2 separate regions of the Homo sapiens genome follow, and region 2 is linked to region 1. Evidence: promoter capture Hi-C in human tissues and cell types (Jung and others, 2019). All regions are on one chromosome and are shown on one strand. Each heading gives the region's core, a stretch centred on a gene start or on the middle of the fragment in contact. The rest is flanking DNA. Distances are from core to core; before and after follow the strand shown.

Region 1 (7,816 bases), core at 1,764-4,263:
ACCTGCATTTCCAAGTTTATCTTTCACTAGCTAGAGGGAAAAACCTTTCAACTGAGCTGATAAAGCCATTTCTCCAAACGTAAAGGGCCCAGAGCCCAAGCCTCCTCTCTGCCACCCAGAGGGGGCTCAATCAAAATAAACCATCCCGGGTTTTCTACCGGTCTAAATCCGCCAGCAATTTAAAACGAAAGCACAGTCCTTTGCCTTCCAAATTAATCTGCATATAATGGTTTACCCACATTAAAAGGTCTTTAGAGGTGACAGGTAATTTAAAATTTTAATCCCGGCCATCATCGACAACAATAACAAAAACACCATTTTTTTTTTTAATACAAAAGGAAGGCTTAGCCTGTAAAATATTAACGCAAGGGCTGGGAGCCACCGGCGGCCAGGAGGGGAACCGGTTCAGTATCCTAGGCCTCTTCTCAGTTACTTCATCTCTTAAGTTTGACTTTGATCTGGAGGGAGCAAACACTAGCTGTTTGCAGGCATTTAGAGGCGCTGATTTATTTGCAATCGATATTCTTTTTATAATCAGTAGTAAAACACAGCAAGTCAAATTATCCCATCAGGTTTTTTGGTAAATAACATTTTATCTTTCTAACAACCTCATTAGGCCTCATTATTACCATAAATTGCGCAGACAGACATTCAAATACAATTTTATCTTTTGACTTCCAAACACCCAATTATAATGGCTTGGAAACCTAGGCCTAGAATCAGGGTTTGGGTTTGAGTTTACTCTCTCAGAACCAGTGGGAGAGCTGGAGAAACACACACCTTTTGGGTGGGAATAATTTTTACATATTATCCCTCTAGGTGGGAAAAACAACTCAGAACAGCAAACATCTCCCTTCCCCAGCTCTCCACAAAGGGTGCAGGTCCTCACACTGAAGCTCTCTCCCTCCCCCGCAAACACAGGCAGGGTTCCCAAATGGCACACAACTGCATTCGCAATTTCTGTAAAAAATATTCATCCTCTGAAAAAATGGTCTAGTTGCAATGTTAGCAAAGGGAGTTCCGGACTCTGAGAAAGTTGTAAAGACCAGAAGATTTCTTGGACTAATTAGTTTGGTGACTGAGGCCGCAGAGAAAACATTTCTGCGGCTAGATTTCGTTTTTGCCCAATCGTTCCAAAATGTACTTTGCGCTTTTCTAATTATTTTGGTTGTAATTGTAAAGAAGACGTTTCAGCCTCGTCTCCACTGGGAATTCTTTTTGAAAGGACACCTTGTAAATCTCTCATCGCGTCCCGGCCTCCCCGCCGCCTGAACAAAATGGGGGCTGATCTTTTTCGATAGTAAGAGACCTGAAAGGCAGCCGGGCCGCTTTCTTTCAAAACTACAAGAAAAGTTACAGGGAAACCCGCTCTTTGCTTGTGCACACTTGAGGGGCGTTTACTCCCCGCTTCTCCTGCGGGGAGCGGGGAGATATCGCGGGTGCTTGGAAATTGCTTTATCCCGCGGGCAGCGACCCAGGAGGGGGCTGCCTCCCAGGGCCCCGCGCCCGCCGCACAATTCACCAGCCGTCCGAAGTTTAAGCACCGACCTTGCAGTCAGACCAAGGAAAATGGATGATTTGGACCGGCAGACAGGCCAATGCCCCCGCGGAGAATTAAGTGTGCAGCCGCCTGCCCCGACATCTAACGCCCACTGGGACGGGAGACTAAGAGGACACCATTTGTTTTAAGCCAAGGGACACTGTTTTCTTTAATCCTCCATTATGTAACGCAGGAAGAAAAGTGCTTTTCTTTCTGTGCAAATGAAATGAAAACTTGGGCAACTTACAAAAGTAAAATCAAACACCGTTTCAGACACCAGCACATTACTGCAACTTAATTTTTGTTTAATCTCAAATTCGCACTCACGCCGTGGAGAGACCTCTCCATCCCTTTGGACCTCTATTGTTAAGATTATTTTGATTGACTCTACCAGGCTTAGAAGGGGTCTGTCTGGCAAACTCGGATACAACTATCTCGGAGCTGCTAAAGAGGGAGAAAACCAAGTTTTCCAGACTCGGTTCGAAAACTAAAGAGGCCGCGCGAGTGGAACCCGCGGCCAGGAAGGGAAGTCCTGCTACGCTACGCCGGGCCGACCTGCAGGAACCCCGTGGGCCTGCCCGGGCGCCCTGGCCGAGCCAGGCGAGTTTGCCCCCGACCTCCAGCGCGGGCACCGCTCCACGGGCCTGCTTCTGCGGCCTCTCTGAATTCACTCGCTACCCGCTCCCTGGCCCGGGCCTTCCGCTTTCCCAGGCCGAGATGGCCCAGCCGTCACCCGCCCGGCCTCCCAGCCCTCTTGCGTCCCCGGGGGCCGCGGCCTCGGCCACCGGGAACCTGCCCCCGGACCTTTCTAGTTCCTCTTCCGGACCAGGTCCACCCGTAGTCTCTCCCTCCCGGGCGACCCGCCACCCTTGCCCTGGCGCGGGTGAGACAGAGGAGAAGCGGGGGAGGCCGGGCGCACTCACCATCTGCGAGAAGAGGCTGAGATCCGCGGCGTAGGGCAGGAAGGCGCTGTAGTTGGGCGCGCCCGCGTACGGCCCCGCCGCCGCGTACATGCCCAGCACCGAGGTGACTGCAGCCGCGCCTGCCCCGCCGCCCAGCTCCGCGGCCCCCGGTCGGCCCGACGAGGCGGCGGCAGCCGCCGCAGCGGCCGCGGCCAGCACCCCCGGGCGCTCGCCGCCGTAGGCGCCCGGCCCCGCGGCGCTCAGGTACTGCGGGTAGCCCAGCTGCGGGAAGGACATGTCCGCGGACTCGGCGACCGCCGCAGCGGGCGAGTATTAAAGGCGCGGGGAGGGAGGCGGAGGCCGGCCGGAGGGGGTTGCAGGGGGCGCCGCGAGGGGTCTAGGGAGGAGCGGGCGGCCGGCCGGGCGCGCTCGGGCGGGCCGGGAGATGGAGGCCGGTCGCGGCTCCTCTGCCCGGTGCTCGCAGGCGCCCGGCTCCCGGCTGCGCCCGGATCCGCAATCGCGCGCCGACTGCGGCGGCCGCCCTCCGCTCGGCGGCGGGGCTTTCAGACACAATTTGAAGTTGATGCTTTGATTGGCATCCCCTTGAGCGCAGGCCCCGCCCCTGGCTCCCCTCCCGCCCCCTCCCTGCCTCCCGCCCGCCCTCGCCGGCCGCTCCCGCCCCTCCCGCGAGCACGTGGTGCCCCGTGCCGGCCCGGCCAGCTACTCTCGCGGTGGGCGCGCGCGTCGGGGCGGCGGGGTGTGGGCCCGGAGGCCGTGGGCTCCTTCCCGACCAGCCCCCGCAGCTGTCTGACAACCTGTCGACACGGGTTTACAGCTGTCTGACACCGGGTTTGCAGTTTCGCGGCCGAGGTGTGTCCCCTTTTTAACAAAAACAACTTGGCGCCTGCTTTTCTACTGTTTGGGCAGCGGGGAAGGGGCCGGCGGCCTGGACGCTGGTGACAGCGAGGGGGGAGCGGCCTCTCCCCCGAGTCCCGCGCGGCCGGGGCCTCCAGGGGACATCTTTGGCAGAAGTGCACCCGGACGCTCTCCGCGAGCCACTGAACCGGCGTGGCGTGACACCCCCGACTCCAGATGCGGGTTCCCGTGGGCCCCTACTGGGTAGTAACCGATCGTCTGCCAATGACCGGCCTCGCCGCCCTTGGGGAAGCGGGGAGCGGCCGAGCTCTGCGGGCTCTTTCAATTGTGCAAACTTTGAGCGAGGGCAAATCCCGCGGAGAAGTCGCCAGCTCGGGGGAAGCAGGCGCAGTCGGCGCCGCGGGTTCTCGGAGGGAGGGGTGGGGGAGACGCGGGGGGAGGGGCTTTCTCTTCACCCAGAAAGCCCCCTGGCAGCCGGAGGGAAACATCCCCCGCGCCCCCGCGAAGGGGGAAGACGGTGTGGCCTGGACGCCCGGTTTGTCCACCAGGTGTGCAGAGGCAGACAGGAAACTTGTGTGGAACGCGCGAACCCGAGTCGGCGCCGCCGCCAGACCGGCAACGGAGCGGCCTCTTGGGTCCAAGTCCCGCGTCCCTCTTCTCCCTGCGTCTCCCCTCTCCATCCTCAGCCTCGTCGGGCTACAGGACGCGGCCAGGCGCGGCGCACTTGAGATGGGCTCCGTTTCGCCGCGGCCCTGGCCGTGCGGCTCCCGGGAGAAGATGCCAAGTGCACGGGCCTCCTCGCCTCCCTGAGCCTGGGAAGGCGCTGGCAGGCCACTTCTGCGCCTCGTGGCTGGAGAGCTCCGGACGGTGCCGTGGGGAACCGGGTACCAGTCCCGGCTCCCGGGGCCACTTTGCGAACCACCTCCTACGCAGAGACGGGGCCGGGAGTTCACCCCGCTGCGGCTCTCCAGCACACCGGACTCCGCGGGAATTTCAGCAGCGCACTCTGGCGTCTTCTCGGCTTTAGGCCGGGTTGGGGCTACGGGATGAAGGCGGCCATCGGGCCAGAGTCGGCATGCTGTTCTGCTGGTGGTTTGAGCCACCCGTATCCTGGACACCGGCCAGGCGGTCCCTTCACCCCCTGCCTCGCTTCCCTCTCTTCACGGAGCCTCGAGGCCCAGGGACTTCAGCAGCATCAGGAGGGGCTCCGGTTTTCCGGGCCTGAGGACAGACACTGAGACATCGCCTATAATTAGCAACAATAATGCCCGTGATGGTAGTAATTACTAATAACCAGCTCCGACATCGGGCTTGATTTTTCCCTGCTCTGAGTCAGATTGTCTTGCTAGTCATGCTGCTTCCCGCGCTCAATTCGCCCCTCCACACTCCAGGATCCGCCTACAACCTCCAGGGTTCCTTTCCTGCTTTTACATAGATTCCGGGCTGGGTTTGTGGGGACGCCGAGGGTTGGTGGGGAGTGGATTCTTGGTGACACAAATCCGGGAAGCCCCTAACTGCAGCTTTTTCCTGTTCCCCAGCCTACCACCAGACACCTTCTAACCCTAAGACAGATTTCCGATCTTCAACCTCCTCTCCTCTATACCCAAAACAAATCCATCCATTGCCTGTGACTCACTGTGTGAGAAGTGGGCCAGTCCCACCCACCCCTGTCCTGTTCAGCAAACTACAGTGTCACATTTCAGGTTGACAGGGGAGATACGCCCTCTTGAGTGACCTGGAGAATGAGGTGGGATGTAAGTCCAGGGACACTTCTCAGCCTTGGGATTCAGCTACAGCTTATCTGCCTCCATCCAACCCACTGAGCACCACCGCCCACCCCACCCGCAAGCCTCAGGTCTCTCTGCAGCTGGCAGAGCTCTGTGGGGAGGCAGGAATAGGGGAGTGGAGGCTTCATCCTAACTCAACCAGCCCACTCCTCTGTGCCCCGGCTGCATCACCTCCATTGGCATCACATCACAAAGTGATTGCAGGCTCCTCAAAACACCAGGGAGCTGGGTGGGGAGGAGCTGGGTGGGGAGGACCTGGCTGGGCCCCACCTGGAGACTCCCCTGTGAATCCTGCCTGAGGACTGCACAGTTCCTGGGGAAGCGGCACTAGCAAAGCTGGGTAACTTGCTCCCTGGAGAGCCCTGCAAAGGTGCAGAAGGGGAGATTGTGGTCTATTCTCTGCCCAAGGCCAGGGCCTGAGGCTGCACTCCAGGTCCCTCGCCTAAAACCAATTCTAGGAAGTCCTTTCTAGGAAGCTCTAGCAGAGCCTGGCAGGCCCTGACTCACCTCCTCTCTTCTTTCTCCTTGGCCCTTGTCCCCAAAACTTTCACCTAGGATACTAGGAAGCAGGGTAGACTGAGAGAAAGAGAGAGAGAATTGCCACCAAAGCATCCCATCAGAGAGGGGGAGGGGCGGAGAAGGAGCTAGAATCTCCTGGCTCAGCCCCTCCTGGTAGAGTTTCCTCCCACTCGTTCTGCCACTCATTTTCAGCAGCAAATGTTTCAGTGGGGCCCAGGGCTTCATGGCCTCAGATGCTGGAGCAGGCAGAAGGGCTGTGCGTCTGGAATCCGTGGGCCTGATTTGAACGTCCTTTTAAAAATGTCGTGAGAAGGTCTAAAACTTTCCCTCAAAGAGACTGCCCCTGCCGCTGCCCGGACTCAGCATCACTGGCATCTAGGACCATCCCTCTGGTGGCCCTAGGGGTGCCAGGCAAAGGCGATGGACATTGGAATGGGAGGTTGTGTGGTTCCCTCTGCTTGGCCTTCGAAACCGACGCCCCAGCTGTGAGGCGCTGGACCTCTGAGGCAGGAGAGAGCCACTTTGTTGGCCCCTCAGCCACTTTTCCTGCCTCCAAAGGGGGTGGCTGAGGCAGGCCCTGCCGCTGCTCCGGAAGTTGCTCCTGGCGGAGCTGGCCGCACCCGGTGGCTGCCCCCTGGTCACTGTGCCAGAGACAAAGACGAGGAGCCTGACAAAACCAGGTCTAGGGGTCGCTGCGCAGCGGAATCGGAGCTCCTCCTGCTTAGCGCCGGGGATCCAGTCCGGAAGCCCTTGGGCCCCAGTGCTCCGGGGACCCAAGGCACGTGGCCCAGAAGGCTGGCAAGACCCCGCGAAGCTCGGCAATGGGGGGTGACTGGGACACCCCTGCTGGGAAGCTAGGACCTTCAGCGCGTCCAGGGCTGGGACAGATGCAGGCCTCCGGCTGCAGCGGCATGGGCAGAGAGCGCGCGTGTCTCGGGGAGCGCAGGGGGCAGGCTGTGGGGGTGGGGGTTGGGCGGGGAGGAGAGGAAAGGCCCAGAGGCGGTAGTGGAGGGGGACGGGCGTTGGTGTGCAACTGCAGTTTAAGCTAACTTGATTAAGCTGGTGTTAAGGCTTCATGGAAAGTTTACTTGCAAGGTGCTGCTGTTGTTATCATTATTATTATGAGTCAGTTTTCTAAATGGGAGGGATTTTTTATTCCTGGAGAAGATCGTTTCCCTTTTCTCTCTCCCAACCCTCGGTGAGGATTCCACCCGCCCTGCCCCACCCTCCTGGGGCATATTTACATCAGGACAAGATTAAACATACCCAACAGCTTCCTAATTTACAATTTTATTTCTTGGGAAACAGTTCGCTGGTCTTGAAGCTCTGCAGTCCGGGGGTCGCTAAGGAAGAGGAGGATGCTCGTGGGGACGCATCACTCCCGGAAGCCGTCTGTGGGACCAGCCTTTGGCGCCGAGAACCAGGCGACACAGACCTGCCGCGGGATGCAACGGGTGGCGCGGCCCTGGCCTCCTGCCTTCACAATGGCCACTGTCAGCTCCAGATGGCGGGGCTCTGCGCTGGGCCGCGGCTCGGTGGCGACGGAGGCGGCCTGACCTGGCGCCGCGCCCCGACTCGCGCGCAGACTTAGGAGTCTGCTTAAAAACGCACTAGGACTTCGCACCGTCCCTCAGCAGCAGCTGGGAGGCCACCCAAGTCGGCGACATTGAGGCAATAGTCAGACAGTCCTCAGCTGTTGAGACCCCCGGTGGGTCCGGCCGCTGCGACTCGATGGTTCCCTAGGCTCCGACCCCTGTGTCCAGTCTGCGCTTTCCTGCCACGCCAGGCAGGGACCGGTGGCCCCTGGGGACCAAGAATAGTCTACAATGAGCGCCCCGAGGGTGCAGGGCTGCAGGGACCCAGTGGCGAGCGGAGCTGAGTTGGGCAGGCGGGAGGAGTCGACTCGAGCCGCTCCAAGGAAACCCCAGAAGGAAACGCCCAGAAGCGAAGGACGCAGGACGGTCGCAGGCTGCGGGGAGTGCCCCCCGCGGCAAGCATCGCGGAACCAGGTCCTCAGCAGCGTGGGGACACCACCCGGGAACGCGGCGGGCGGACCAAGGGCGACCCAGGCCCTAAAGCTGCGGCACTGGGCCCGTATTTCCCACAAACGCAGGGCAGAGGAATGGACCGCAGTGGCCTGGCCTGGAGTGCCGCTACGACGCCGTCCCCAGTGTCGAAGGAAGTGAATTACA
Region 2 (7,816 bases), core at 3,646-6,145, 74 kb before region 1:
GGGAAGCAGAGCCTCACCCGACCTTCCCGCTCCTGGAACAGACGTCTCCATTTTCCCTCTCCTGAATCCACTGACTGTCAGAAACCACAATTGCGGTGGCTTTATAGCCTCTCTTGTTTAGTAGCTTGTTTCATAATTTAAAAGATTAAACTTGAAAGAAAACTTGAGGTCAGGGAAGGTAAATAGTCCCTGGGACCATCCCCTCTTCCCATCTCTCACCTGGGGAATTTGGGAGGTTTGTGTTGGCAAGGATGCACCTGCACGGTATGCTGGCTGTCAGGAGCGTGGCTGGCTGGCCGCTGGCGAGGGGCCTAGTGAGCACACCGTCCACTGTCCCTCAAATCCACTCATGTGTCCTTTGACAAAGATGCTTGCTCTGGGCTTGTGGAATCCACTGGGGAACAAAATGGACAAAGATCTCTGATCCCTGCCCTCCGGGGGTTTACATTCTGGTGGTTGGGGAATGGTAGTACCATAAAAGTAAACATACAAATAAGTAAATTATCTATATGGGAAAAAATATATATATATATATTTGCTTCATATATATATATATATATATATATATATATATATATGAAGCAGAAAGTAGAGGGAGAGAGCCAGCTCTGTAGAAAGAGGGTGGTCAGGGCATGCTTACCGGAGAAGGTGGCATCCAGGAAGGAGCTGAGGGATGAGCCCTGCAGGAAGGCCGGGAGCAGCATCTGTGCAGAAGGAACCACCAGCACAAACACGCCCAGACCCAGCTGCCGGGGGTGCTGAGGAAAACATAAGGAGCAGCCGGAGCGGAGTGACTGGCAGAGAAAACGGCAGGAGGCGAGAAGTGAGCTGAGTAGAACCAAGGCTGGAGCTGTCCCTGTGACGATGTGAGCATTCTCAACAGGGAAGCCAGGACCTTGGCTGGGTTTGGTCCCATGATAAGTCAAATAAAACCTGCAGTTAAAGACCCAAGACAAACAATACATTCAATGCCGAAAGCAGTGTGCAAAAATCACAGAGCTGGATGGATAGAAGAGAGGTGTCAGTATTTGCAGGTGGTGGTAGGATTCACTGCACTTTGCTTCTCCCATCAGAGAGTTGGTGGGCTCCTTTCCTATCTATGAACAAGTGTCTGCCAGTGAAAGGTTTCCAGAGACTTCTCTGTGTGGTGATAGGGCTTGGAGGGGATCCTCGTCACTGCAGCACATTCCAAGCTCCAAGGAGCATGCCTCTTAGGCCAGCCCATGCATGCCCGTGAGAGGCTGCCCATGAGGAGGAGCTGGGAGGCCTCTGGACTGTTCAGATGACTGAAGGGAGGAGGCCGATTTGCAAAGGGGCCAAGAGTTTCCTAGAAGCCCAACGTAAAGACCTTGAGCCTTGGCCCTGAGAGTGGTGTTATCAAAAGTTTTCTGATTGATTGAGAAAGGCCTGACCAAGACTCCCTGAATTTACCCTGGAAACCCAACGGGCAGTACCCCAACTTGGAGTTCTGGGGTGGTAAGTGAGGAAACACGACTCAAGAAGCCCTTAGCAGTAAAAGGAAGAATTCCAGAGTGTATTAGTTCCTTCCCACACTGCTATAAAGAAATACCCGAGACTGGGTAATTTATAAAAGAAAGAGCTTTAATTGACTCACAGTTCTACATGGCTGGGGAGGCCTCAGGAAACTTACAATCATGGCAGAAGGCAAAGGGGAAGCAAATTTGGACCTTTCACGTGGCAGGAAAGAAAGGAAAGCACAAGCACGAGAAACACTGGATGCTTGTGAACCCCTCAGATCATGTGAGAACTCACTCACTATCACGAGAACAGTATCGGGGAACTGCCCCCATGACCCAGTCACCTCCCTCCCTCCACATGTGGGGATTACAATTCAACATGAGATTTAGGTGGGGACACAGAGCCAAACCATATCACAGACGTAAGGCGGGCCTTAGGTGGGCTTGACCCCGTGGCCACTGTGACCTCAGGGCTGTGGCTCAGTTCCTCTGGCTCTCCCGGCTCTGTGACTGCTGTGTGTTTACTTCTGCCTTGGCAGTTGTTCCCTGTGTCACAGCAGCTCCTAGGACAAGTGTCTCCACTCACATCAGGGCAGGCTTTTGGGATTCATCCTGACTGCACAGTCCTAATGTGTGAGCATAGTGCAGTGGGGCAGGGTTAACCCAGAGGGCTCAGACCAGGCAGCGCTCTCCCCTTGAGGTGGAGAAGTGCCCATCCCACCCAACCCTCCCAGCTGCCATGTCATGGGGATGGGTGATGTGGGTGAAGCAGGGACAGAAGGGCACTCACTGAGAGTCCACCTGATGGCACTGGGAGCCCAGGCTCCCTGCACACTCCAGCCATGGCCCGGTGGGCCTGCTGATCCAGGCTGTGTAGCTCGGGGGAGGCCTTGAGCACATGCCTGGGCAGCCCCTTTGCCAAACAAAACACAGAGGAAGCAGGCAGCCTTTCTTTTTGGGGTCACCATACCTCACTTGGCCCCACCAGCCCCGGGGTTATCCAGCAGTTGAGGAACCGTCTTAGGAAGGGTCTTGGCCAAACCCAATGGCATCTCCTTTATGCTGCTCAGCTCAGCACAGAAAGTATCTCCACAGGGCCTTTTCTTACCCTTGTTTCGTGTGGCTCTCTGGGGGCTTATTTGGCCCTTCCTGCCCCCTACAGCCTCTGGAGTACAAGGTCAGCACCATCACAGACAAAGCCTCGCTGAGCCTCTGCTCACCCCCAACACAGTTAAGGTCCAGGAGCGGCACAGGTCTTAGTCGAGTCCACACAAGTTTCTACTAGAGGTGTTGGGTGGACTCTGTTTATCACTCAGGGGTTCAGAGCAGCAAAGACCACACACCATGAGCAAGGAGACCCTCTTCCCTGGCTTGTAAGGAAGCCGTTCACACAGGAGAGAGCAGGGCTAAAACCCAACAAGCAATGCAGCCAAGTGGCAAGAGGAAGCCATGACGCCACTGTCTCAGTCTTTCCTTCCACCCAGGCCTGAGCCTTTTACCCCAGACTTTTCGATTATGTGAACCAAAATTTCCCTCCCCAGGGTTAGGAGGTGGGAGTCGGGCCTTTAGTCAGAGCAACCAGCAGGGCCCTGGGGCACACACACATTGAACATTCATGACTCCCCAGTACAAAGCCTGGCCACAGCACTGCCTTGCTCTCAGATATCTCCCTGCAAACACCTGCTTCTCCCATGTGACTCATCTCAGTCACCTTCCATCCTCTCTCTCCCAGCAGGGTGCATTCTCCCTGTCTGTGTCCCTCCCTACCACATCACATTACATCAGTCCACGCTGGATTGAATCAACTGGCTTGCAATTCTCCCTCCCCACTGGCCCATGGGTTCCTCTGGACACAGCTCAGAAGGCATATCTGTGCCTGAGTCAGCTTCGATTCTGCAGTCCTCAGCACAGTGCTGGCACACATTAGATGCCAAATAAATAGGTAAATCCCTAAACTAGCAACTGAGCTGCAGGCTGTGGCTCTCGGCAGCCTTATCCTCTTTACATAAAGGTACAAATTCACACTAAACAAGCAAATACTATGAAGAACATACATGGAAGACATATTCAAACTCCCTGGAAAATCACTGATTACCCAAGTCCCATGTGGAGTTTGTTCATGTATCCCAAACCCACATCAAGTCCTCTTGTAGGAATCTATTGAGAACATCCAAATATGCCTAGGATGGTGAGCAATAAGATTGTTACCATAGATTAAAGTTTTTAAATTGCACAAGAACTTTGTAAATATGTGATAACTGTATCCACATATGGGGAGGGGATAAAGTTACACTAGTAAGTAAATATTTGAAAAGATGAAGGTGCAGAACCGTGTGTAGTCTTCTGCCACTGTGCAGAAGCAATTGTGCATGGCTATGCGGACAAGAACGTATCTCTGGCGATACACAGATCCTAGCAATGTCAGTTTCCTATTAGAAAGGAAAGGTGGCTAAGCCACAGGAGAGGAAGGGAGGTGTTTTCTTTTTTAAATATCCTTTTATTTATTTGTTTGTTTTAATTATGAACCATAATATTGTATTAGGTATTCAAAAATTTTCATGTTTTAAACACGGTCAAGTCTCTGAAGGGGGATTAATATAGTTGTATTTGTTTGCAGAGAGAAGCTCACCAATGAATGAGCATTGTCTCAATCACTGCTTCTCACCTCTTTTGCTCATCTCATCCATGTGGCTTTTCAACAACAAAAGGTCACTTCAGGGAGCAAGGCCGGGAAGCTAATCAATAAAGGAATTGGACTGCTCTTGATGCTTTAACATAATATTTGTATTTTCCTTTCCTGTAAATGTAATGAAGTTATGTCCTCACAGGGAAATCTGAACTAATTCAAGGTCGTATCTGCATAACTTAAGAAAACTTGGTCTTCGAGTGGCTGGCAAGATGGCTGAATAGGAACAACTCTGGTCTGCAGCTCCCAGCCAGATCAATGCAGAAAGCGGGTGATTTCTGCATTTCCAGCTGAGGTACATGGCTCATCTCACTGGGACTGGTTAGACAGGGGGTGCAGCCCATGGAGGGCTAGCCAAAGCAGGGTGTGGTATCACCTCACCTGGGAAGTGCAAGGGGTCGGGGAACTCCCTCCCCTAGCCAAGGGAAGCCATGAGGGACTGTGCCATGACAGATGGTGCATTCTGGCGCAGATACTATGCTTTTCCCGTGGTCTTTGCAACACACAGACCAGGAGATTCCTTGGGTACCTTCACCACCAGGGCCCTGGGCTTCAAGCACAAAACTGGGCGTCCATTTGGGCAGACACCAAGCTAGCTATAGGAGTTTTTTTTGTACCCCAGTGGCACCTGGAATGCTACTGACACAGAACCATTCACTCCCCTGGAAAGGGGGCTAAAGCCAGGGAGCCAATTGTTCTAGCTCAGCTGATCCCACCCCATGGAGCCCAGCAAGCTAAGATCCACTGGCTTGAAATTCTCTCTTCCAACACAGCAGGCTGAAGTCAATCTGGGATGCCCAAGCTTAGTCAGGGGTGGGGTATCCACCATTACGAAGGCTTGAGTAGGTGGGTTTCCCCTCACAGTGTAAAGGGGAAGTTCAAACTGGGTGGAGCCCACCGCAGCTCTGCAAAGCTCCTGTAGCCAGAATGCCTCTCTAGATTCCTCCTCTCTGGGCAGGGCATCTCTGAAAGAAAGGCAAGAGCCCCAGTTAGGGGCTTATAGATAAAACTCCCATCTCCCTGGGACAGAGCACCCAGAGGAAGGGGCAGCTGTGGGCACAGCTTCAACAGACTTAAACTTTCCTGCCTGCCAGCTCTGAAGAGAGCAGTGGATCTCCCAGCACAGTGTTTGAGCTCTGATAAGAGACAGATTGCCTCCTCAAGTGGGTTCCTGACCCCCATGCCTCCTGACTGGGAGACACCTCCCAGTAGAGGTCAACAGTCACCTCATACAGGAGAGCTCTGGCTGGCATCTGGCCGGTGCCCCTCTGGGACAAAGCTTCCAGAGGAAGAAACAGAATCTTTGCTGTTCTGCAGCCTCCACTGGTGATACCCATGCAAACAGGGTCTGGACAGGACCTCCAGCAAACTCCCAGCAGACCAGCAGCAGAGGGGCTTGACTGTTAGAAGGAAAACTAACAAACAGAAAGGAATAGCATCCACATCCACAAAAAGGACATCCACGGAAAAACCCCATCCAAAGGTCACCAGCATCAAAGACCAAAGGTAGATAAATCCATGAAGATTAGAAAAAAAACAACACTAAAGGACTAAAAATTCCAAAAACCAGAATGCCTCTTCTCCTCCAAAGGATCACAACTCCTCACCAGCAAGGGGACAAAACTGGAGGGAAACTTAGTTTGATGAATTGACAGAAGTAGGCTTCAGAAGGTGGGTAATAACAAGCTCCTCTGAGATAAAGGAGCATGTTCTAACCCAATGCAAGAAAGCTAAGAACCTTGAAAAAAGGTTAGAGGAATCACTAACTAGAATAACCAGTTTAGAACATAAATGACCTGATAGAGCTGAAAAACACAGCACGAGAACATTGTAAAGCATACACAAGTATCAATAGCTGGCTTGATCAAGTGGAAGAAAGGATTTCAGACATTGAAGATCAACTTAATGATATAAAGCATGAAGAAAATATTGGAGAAAAAAAAAGGAACGAACAAAGCCTCCAAGAAATGGACTATGTGAAAAAACCAAACCTACGTTTGATTTGTGAACTTGAAAGTGATGGGGAGAATGGAACCAAGTTGGAAAACACTCTTCAGGATATCATCCAGGAGAGCTTCCCCAACCTAGCAAGACAGGCCAAGGTTCAAATTCAGGAAATACAGAGAACACCACAAAGATACTCCTCAAGAAGAGCAACCCCAAGACACACAATCATCAGATTCACCAAGGTTGAAATGAAGGAAAAAATGTTAAGGGCAGCCAGAGAGAAAGGCTGGGTTACCCACAAAGGGAAGCCCGTCAGACTAACAGCAGATCTTTCTGCAGAAACCCTACAAGCCAAAAGATAGTGGGGGCCAACGTTCAAGATTCTTAAAGAAAAGAATTTTCAACCCAGAATTTCATATCCAGCCAAACTAAGCTTCATAAGTGAAGGAGAAATAAAATCCTTTACAGACAAGCAAATGCTGAGAGATTTTGTCACCACTAGGCCTGTCTTACAAGAGCTCTAAATACGGAAAGGAAAAATCGGTACCAGCCACTGCAAAACATACCAAATTTTAAAGACCATTGACACTATGAAGAAACTGCATCAACTAGCAGGCAAAATAACCAGCTAGCATCACAATGACAGGATCAAATTCACACATAACAATATTAACCTTAAATGTAAACTGGCTAAATGCATCAATTAAAAGACAGACTGGCAAATTGGATAGAGTCAAGAACCATCGATGTGCTGTATTCAGGAGACCCATCTCACATGCAAAGACTGACATAGGCTCAAAATAAAGGGATGGAGGAAGATTAACCAAGCAAATGGAAAGCAAAAAGAAGCAAGGGTTGCAATCCTAGTCTCTGATAAAATAGACTTTAAACCAAAAAAGATCAAAGGAGACAAAGAAGGGCATTACATAATGGTAAAGGGATCAAAGCAACAAGAAGAGCTAACTATCCTAAATATATATGCACCCAATACAGGAGCACCTAGATTCATAAAGCAAGTTCTTAGAGACCTACAAAGAGACTTAGACTCCCACACAATAATAGTAGGATAATTTAACACCACAATGTCAATATTAGACAGATCAATGAGACAGAAAGTTAACAAGAATATTCAGGACTTGAACTCAGCTCTGGACTCAGCAGACCTAATAGACACATACAGAACTCTCCACCTCAAGTCAACAGAATATACATTCTTCTCAGCACCACATCACACTTATTCTAAAATTAATCACATAATTGGAAGTAAAACACTCCTCAGCAAATGCAAAAGAACAGACATCATAGGCCTGGCACAGTGGGTCACGCCTCTAATCCCAGCACTTTGGGAGGCTGAGGTGGGCGGATCATGAGATCAGGAGATCGAGATCATCCTGGCTAATACAGTGAAAATCTGTCTCTATTAAAAACACAAAAAATTAGCCGGACGTGGTGGTGGGCACCTGTAGTCCCAGCTTCTCAGGAGGCTGAGGCAGGAGAATGGTGTGAACCTGGGAGGCAGAGCTTGGAGTGAGCTGAGATCACGCCATGGCACTCCAGCCTGGGTGACAGAGCCAGACTCCGTCTCAAAAAAAAAAAGAAAAGAAATCATAACAAACAGTCTCTCACACCACAGTGCAATCAAATTAGAACTCAGGATTAAGAAACTCACTAAAAACTGCGCAACTACATGGAAACAGAACAACCT

What was found. Contacts are between HindIII fragments. The study calls those that stand out against the background at their distance.
Region 2: a fragment that was not itself captured here is called in contact with the fragment with the promoter of IRX1 in region 1 in 3 of the 25 tissues and cell types used here (bladder, small bowel and spleen).

The regions. Positions count from the first base shown.
Region 1 is chr5:3,591,029-3,598,844 of GRCh38, reverse strand. IRX1 (iroquois homeobox 1) reads right to left here and starts at 3,013. Exons shown (of 4, transcript NM_024337.4): 1 at 2,464-3,013. The coding sequence starts at 2,739. RefSeq lists an enhancer at 1-150 and a silencer at 3,016-3,310. The HindIII fragment of the contact is 23,247 bases long and covers 1-7,816 here.
Region 2 is chr5:3,666,922-3,674,737 of GRCh38, reverse strand. No RefSeq gene overlaps it. Among named protein-coding and RNA genes, the nearest start is that of IRX1, 75 kb to the right of the region's middle. The HindIII fragment of the contact is 5,481 bases long and covers 2,155-7,635 here.